Linked DNA regions of Homo sapiens: region 2 is linked to region 1. The links are contacts of gene promoters, found by promoter capture Hi-C in blood cells and fetal thymus (Javierre and others, 2016). All regions are on one chromosome and are shown on one strand. The core of a region is centred on a gene start or on the middle of the fragment in contact, and the rest is flanking DNA. Distances in the headings are between cores, read along the strand shown. Region 1 holds the start of DNMBP-AS1 (DNMBP antisense RNA 1). Region 2 has its middle 22 kb from the start of DNMBP.

Region 1 (3,947 bases), core at 759-3,258:
AGTCTCTACACTTCTTTGGACATTAATGGAAAAGAAGACTTGACTTTATTTTTATTTATTTATTTTTTTGAAACAAGATCTCATTCTGTCCCCCTGGCTGGAGAACAGTGGCACGGTCATGGCTCACTGCAGCCTCAAACTCCTGGGCTCAAGAGATCCTCCCACTTTAGCCTCCTGAGTAGCTGGGACTATGGGTACATGCCACCATGCCCGGCTACTTTTTTATTTTTTTGTAGGGGCAGGGTTTCACCATGTTGCCCAGGCTGATCTTGAACTCCTGGGCTTGAGCGAACCACCCACCTCTGCTTCCCAAAGTACTGGGATTACAAGTGTAAGCCACCATTGCCAGGCCTTCATTTTAATTTTTTTTTTTTACCGCTCCTTTCAGAGCAGGGCTACCCCATAGGCAGTGTGCCCAGAGTAGCCCTGATTTGTTTTATAGATTGTTCACTCCTTGACATTCAGGAATCTTAAGTGAATGATGAGTACTGACACTCTTGTGGATTCCAGAAGATTATTTCTAGCTTTCAAATCACTTCATCTCACTGAGCCTTAACTACGTTGTCTGTGAAATGAGAATATTAGGAGTCTTTTATCATGTAGAGGTTCTTTCTTTCTTGCCATTATATCTTTTCTTCAGTTCTCATAAGTGAGCTTTATTTCTACTGTGTTATTTTTATAATTACTGAACTCTCTGTTAAACCTTTCGTGTGTGTGTATGCTGTATGTTGTCTTCATGCCAAACGGCCTTTCTGGTTCTGGCCAATTTTGGGGTCCAGGCTGTGACCAGAGGATAAAGGTTAGTCAGAGAATGTGAATGATCTGAAAAATCCATCTCATGCCCTCCCCTTAAGTAGAAAGTTTCTCGTCTAGGTCTCCTTCAGAATGGGCTGGCTGGTTAGATTTGTACTAGGGGCCACCACAGACTGAAAAGATAAGCCTGCTATGGTCCTGGGATGGCCGGTGGTTTACCTGGTGGTCTTCCAACATGGGCTTGACTTAACTTGAATTTCTGGGGCACCATTTTGGACCTAACAGGCTCTTAACCTGCACCTATAAAGACAAAAATGAAACCAAACCCAGCTTTAGTTGGGAGGCTGAGGTTTTTAGCAGCTAGTCATTTTTTCCTAGGTGCATTTTCTCTCTGAAATGATAGGGACTGGATAACTTCTAAATTCCTTCCAGCTAAAAAAGAAAAAAGTCTGATTCTGTGATTCTTTATATTGGTTTTTGTATTGTTCCTCTTCCCTTCCCCCCGCATCTGTTCCTTTGGTGAACTTTGTTTCCTATGTTTAGTTCCTTATTGTATTAAGCCTCCCAACTGTAATCAAAGTGTGTTTATTCTGTTTGACTTAACAGGAGTGAAACCCTTCTCTCTGCAGTGTTGTAATGTGCCCTCTGATCTCCCTGAAACCAGCTCGGTTCCACCCAATATCATTTCCATTTCTACAACTCTCTTTATCTTTGAGGACTTAACTTTTGAAAGTATATTCATATTTAGTTCACCCCTTTTTGTACCCCTAATATCCTTCTTGACCTATAACAAATTCTGTCTTTACTAGAAATCTTTCAGCATTCTAACGTTCTTTGTTAGCTCTCTCACGCCATTGCCCTTCCTGAATATTACAAGGGAACACTGTGTAATTACACAAAGGAACAAGCATCAGAGTTGGTCTGCCCTGAGTTCAAATCTCAGCTCCACCATTTACTAAATGGCCTTAACTTGACAAAAATTACTTAACCTCTTGGAGCTTCGGATTCTCAATTTGTAAAGTGAAGATAATACCTCTCTCATAATGAGATAGAAAAATAAAACAGTCACATATCCGGAACATAGTAGGTGCTCATAAATGGCCATTTCTTTGTGTTTTATCTGCCCACCTCCCTTCCCCTTTATAAGTTGCGCCACCCACCTGTCACTCCATGGTTTCGTCTCTGAGTTCCAGATTGATAGTCCCTGCTCCCTGTTGGACATCTACCCTAGACCGTAAACACTTCAAGTTTGATTGTCTAAGTGGAATGTCCTGTCCCTTCCTCTTCTCCCGTCTTCCCCTTGCCACCCCTCCTCCATCTGAGACAGAGCTCTGTTCAGTGGCTGCTCTCCAGCCTCTCCCCCAGGCAGGAAGCCAAGTTTTCCCCCAGGCTTTCCTTTCTCACCGGCCTGATCAGTCATTCTCCTGAGGCCTCCATCTGAGGTTTTTTTAGGGCAGGTCTGTTAGGGGTTTGCTCTTAGTCCTAGGGTGTGGACCTCTAGTTCTGAGAGGTGGGCCTTATTCCTAAGGTGTGGCCCTTCGGAGGTTTCAACAGAAAACTGGAAGTGTTTATTGAACCTCCTAACTTGGAGGGACTCAAATTTCAAACTGTGTCTTCCCAGAGCCAGACAGTTGGTGAAGATCTATCTGCTGGGCTCTTCTGGCCTCCAGCTTTCCACGGGGTTCCTTGGAGTCTCATCACCTGCATGCACAGTTGAAGGATTGAGAGGCATTTCTGCACAGATTTTGGGGCTCTCCTCTCTGTGGCTTACTGTTTTCCAGGATTTCCCCCTTAATAGCTAATGTCTTCAGAGCCCCCAGACTGGAACCTTTGGCTGCTCAGCCCAGTAAGATTGCCCCATGTGGGCTTTCTTCTTTTGCTTTATTTCCCGGCGTCCTAAAAGACTAGGGAGTGCCCTGAGGGGAGGACTGGAGACAGGTGCATCTTACCTAGTTTGCTTCCCTTGTTTTGAGTCATATCCCCTCCAAATTCTGCCTGCTTTTGATTGCTTTTCAGTGCCTGCATATAGTTATTTTTTAAAATATCTGTCAGAAGGCTGAGGTGGGAGGATCACTTGAGCCTGGCAGGTCGAGGCTATAGTGAGCTATGATGATGCCACTATACTGCAGCCTGGGTGACAGAGTGAGACCACATCTCTAGAAAAATAAAAGTAAATAAAAGTTAAAAAAATAAATCTTGTAAAGTGTTTTTGGTAGTTATAAGTAGGGAGATTAGTACAATGTGAGCTACTCTACCATTACTAGACCAAGTGTGGGCACTAGGGTTTTGCACTTGCTAATAACATACATGGTTATGATGAGAAGGGGACCTGGTGTTTCAAATTCCACGTTACCTGTTTTGCATGTAAATAATATTAGGATATCTAAATGAAGAGCTCTTACAGAGAAAACTATGAAACTAGAGAGGGCTCTAAACAAAACTAGAGAGGGCTAAAGGTTCAGGGTTGGAAGGCTACAAAATAGGAGCCTCTTATGTTATTACTGGAAGGAAGCTTATATAGCCACAATCCCATGTTTTTGTAAATAATGGGTAGCCACTCATGACTGGGTCTTGAAGTCTGTTTGGGGGTTGCAATCAGCAGTTCTGAAAAATAAAAGTAAATAGAAAAAACTTTCATACTACATTCTATGTAGTAAAAGTAAGCATGTAATACTTTGTGTATGTGTATGTGTATAGACATAAATGTATTATGTAAATGTGAGTTACAGCCTAAAGTGTGGGTCAGGCCAGGCACAGTGGCTCACGCCTGAAATACCAGCACTTTGGGAGGCCGAGGTGGGCAGATCACTTGAGGTCAGGAGTTTGAGACCAGCCTTGCCAACATGGTGAAACCCCCTGTGTACAAAAATACAAAAATTAGCTGGGCATGTTGGTGGGCGCCTGTAGTCCCAGCTACTCCGGAGGCTGAGGCGGGAGAATCGCTTGAACCCAGGAGGTGGAGGTTGCAGTGAGCTGAGATTGTGCCACTGCACTCCAGCCTGGGCGACAGAGTGAAACTGTGTCTCAAAAAAATAAAATAAAAAATAAAGTGTGGGTCACAGTAAAAAATGTTTGAAAAACACTTAAATACAACCCATTTATTTTATAAATGAAGAGATAGAGCTCAGAGAAATTGAAATGTGTTTCCAAGGTAACTGGGTCAAGGATTAGGGCAGGAATAGAATCTGGCTCTC
Region 2 (3,702 bases), core at 735-3,234, 100 kb before region 1:
GTAAAATTTAACCAGTGTCTCCAATTGTGTCTTGTTACAAAAGAAAACAGATTCTTATTGCACTTATGCAAATAACTATATTGCCATAAGTTAAGAATACTCACAACTAGTTTCCAAATTTTGGAGAAATCAGGAAGAGAGAAACATGCGTAGTGAGCCCACTGTCTCTACAAAAAAACATGAAAAAGCCAGGTGTGGTGATGCATGTCTGTAGTCCCAGCTACTTGGGAAGCTGAGGTGGGAGGATCACTTGAGCCCAGGAGGTCAAGGCTGCAGTGAGCTACCATCATGCCACTGCACCCCAGCCTGGGTGACAGAGCAAGAACCAGTCTCAAAAAGAAAAAATTTCTAAAATGGTAAGGTCTCAATACAAGGAAATCAAGTTTATTTCTGTTAAAGATCCCAGAAATGAATTCACAGTGTGATATTGTGACCTATTAAAAGAAAAACCTTAGACAGGTCAAGTGTAGTGGCTCGCACCTGTAATTCCAGTGCTTTGGGAGGCTGAGTCAGGAGAACTGCTTGAGTTCAGGAGTTCAAGACCAACCTGGGCAACATAGACCTCGTCTCAATTAAAAAAAGTTTTCTTAATTAAGAAAAACCTCGGCTGGGTGCGGTGGCTCACGCCTGTAATCCCAACACTTTGGGAGGCTGAGGCGGGTGTATCATGAGGTCAGGAGTTCGAGACCAGCCTGACCAACATGGTGAAACCCCATCTCTACTAAAAATACAAAAATTAGCCAGGTGTGGTGCCTCATGCCTGTAATCCCAGCTACTAGGGAGGCTGAGGCATGAGAATTGCTTGAACCCAGGAGGCAGAGGCTGCAGTGAGCCGAGATCGCACCACTGCACTCCAGCCTGGGCCATAGAACGAGACTGTGTCTCAAAGAAAAAAAAAAAAAGAAAAAGAAAAACCTACATTTTCTGTTATTTCAAAAAAAAAAAAAAAACCTTAGATTAAATTTAACAATTTTTAATTGAGCAAAGAATGATTTGTGAACCAGGTAGCACCCAAACCAGAATAAGTTCAGGGAGACTCTGTCGCTGCTGTGTGGTCTAAATTTTATGGACAGAAAAAGGAAAGTGATGTACATAAAGCAGAAGTGGACGTACAGAAGCAGCTGGATTGTATATAGTTTGATATTTGCCTTATTTGAACACAGTTTAAACAGTTGCCCACCTTTGATTGGTCAAAACTCAATGATTGGTATAACAGTAAGGTTACAGCCCATTTACACATTTTGGTTACAGTTCACTATGTACAAAAAAACCTTTAGGCTGAACTTAAAATATGTAAGAAGGCAGCTTTAAGCTTTCATATTGAATTCTGAAGGGAAACAAAAACAAAAGTGTTCTCTTAACCCCTAAGAGAAGTCCAATGTTCTGTTTCTGACTGATTATGGACCAACAAGGGTATTAAAATTTCTTGCCCATGTTGCCTCCTTATCTTCCATGTATCAAGAGATAAGTTTGTCCATGTACAAATAAAAGTATACCCTGTGAGTGCACACAAGATACCTCTTTTTCAGTTCTATTGTTCATAGAGGCATAAGCAAGGAAAAAACTGAGAGATAACAGTCTCATGATACCAGAGGAGTCTTGATCTGTGATCCTGGGAAATAGCTGTCTACATCTAAGATGCTGTCTGCTTATAGGGAGAAACTTCCCTGGGTAGATTTCTTTCTTTCTTTTCTTTTCTTTCTTTCTTTCTTTTTTTTTTTTGAAACAGAGTCTTATTTGCTCTGTCGCTCAGGCTGGTGTGCAGTGACACAATCCCAGCTCACTGCAGCCTCGAACTCCTGGGCTGCAGCAATCTTCCCATCTGAGCCTCCCGAGTAGCTGGGACTACAGGTGCGTACCATTGTGCCTGGCTAATTTTTGTATTTTTTGTAGAGATAGGGTTTCACCATGTTGACCAGAGTGGTCTTGAACTCCTGAGATCAAGGTATTAGCCTGCCTCAGCCTCCCAAAGTTCTGGGATTACAGGAGCGTGCCACTATGCCTGGCTACTTTTTTAAAGTTTTTTTTTTTGAAACGGAGTCTCGCTCTGTCGCCCAGGCTGGAGTGCCGTGGCGCAATCTCAGCCCACTGCAAGCTCCACCTCCCGGGTTCACGCCATACTCCTGCCTCAGCCTCCTGAGTAGCTGGGACTATAGGCGCCCGCCACCACGCCCAGCCAATTTTTTGTATTTTTAGTAGAGACGGGGTTTCACGGTGTTAGCCAGGATGGTCTCGATTTCCTGACCTCGTGATCCACCTGCCTCGGCCTCCCAAAGTGCTGGGATTATAGGCGTGAGCCACCGCGTCCGGCCTTTTAAAGTTTTTGTAGAGACAGAGTCCCACTATGTTGCTCAGGCTGGTCTTGAACTCCTGGGCTCAAGCAGTCCTCCCACCTCAGCCTCCCAAAGTGCTGGGATTATAGGCATGAGCCAGCATGCCCAGCCAGATTTACATTAAGGTCCCCAAAGGGGGATAGTTCTAAGAATCTGGAGGGACCCTTCTGAGTTGTGAGATTAGGAACCTAAAGTTTAAGGTTTAGAAGTTTTGCTGCAATGTGGGTGACAAGGGCAGTCTTTCTCTAATGTTCTCAGAAGAACCCATCTTTTAGTCCTAGGTTGTGAAGAGTTTGATCAGTGAGTAGACCATGAAAAGCTTTCTTAACCTGATGAAAACACACTTTTGGCATAATGCATTAAAGTTTTTTTTTGTTTGTTTGTGGTTTTTTTGTTTGTTTTCCAGATGAAGTCTTGCTCTGTCACCCAGGCTGGAGTGCAGTGGCACGATATCAGCTCACCACAACCTCCACCTCCCAGGTTCAAGCGATTCTCCTGCCTCAGCCTCCTGAGTAGCTGGGATTACAGGTGCTTGCCACCATGCCTGGCTAATTTGTGTATTTTTAGTAGAGATGGGGTTTCACCATGCTGGCCAGGCTGGTCTCAAACTCCTGACCTCAGGTGATCCGCCCGCCCTGGCCTCCCAAAGTGCTGGGATTACAGGCGTGAGCCACTGCGCCCGGCCATAATGCATTAAAGTGTTAAAGCATTTAGCCATTTTAGAGTTTAGGAGCAGAAGATACATGGGGTTCTATGATTAAGAGCATAGGCTTTTCAGTGACTATTTCATGAGGATTCAATTTATGTTTTCCACTAGAGATGGATCTGATTGTCATCAGTCTGCAATAACTTTGACCAAGGCAATCTTTTTTTTTTTTTTTTTTTTTTTTTTTGAGACGGAGTTTTGCTCTTGTTGCCCAGGCTGGAGTGCAATGGCACGATCTCGGCTCACTGCAACCTCCACCTCCTGGGTTCAAGCAATTCTCCTGCCTCAGCCTCCCAAGTAGCTGAGACTACAGGCACCTGCCACCAATCCCAGCTAAGTTTTTGTATTTTTAGTAGAGACAGGGTTTCACCAGGTTGGCCAGGCTGGTCTCAATCTCCTGACCTCGTGATCTGCCTGCCTCGGCCTCCTAAAGTGCTGGGATTACAGGCATGAACGACCACACCCGGCCTTACCAAGGAAATCTTAATCTTATATGTGTATCTATTTTTTGAGACAGCTTCTCACTCTGTCACTCAGGCTGGAGTGCAGTGGTGCTATCTCAGCTCACTGCAGCCTCAACCTCCTGGGCTCAGGTAATCCTCCCATCTCAGCCTCCCAAGTAGCTGGGACTAGAGACATGCACCATCACACATGCCCAGCTAA

Evidence for each region. The method cuts DNA at HindIII sites, captures the fragments that hold promoters and counts their contacts. A CHiCAGO score of 5 or more calls a contact.
Region 2: a fragment that was not itself captured here is called in contact with the fragment with the promoter of DNMBP-AS1 in region 1 in 2 of 17 cell types (naive B cells and total B cells); the score reaches 5.9 in naive B cells.

Annotation. Positions count from the first base shown.
Region 1 is chr10:99,925,266-99,929,212 of GRCh38, reverse strand. It overlaps DNMBP-AS1 (DNMBP antisense RNA 1), which reads right to left and starts at 2,008. Exons shown (of 5, transcript NR_024130.3): 1 at 1,914-2,008; 2 at 973-1,053. The region is part of intron 4 of DNMBP (dynamin binding protein); the gene reads left to right. The HindIII fragment of the contact is 7,506 bases long and covers 1-3,267 here.
Region 2 is chr10:100,030,112-100,033,813 of GRCh38, reverse strand. No RefSeq gene overlaps it. Among named protein-coding and RNA genes, the nearest start is that of DNMBP, 22 kb to the right of the region's middle. The HindIII fragment of the contact is 1,340 bases long and covers 1,315-2,654 here.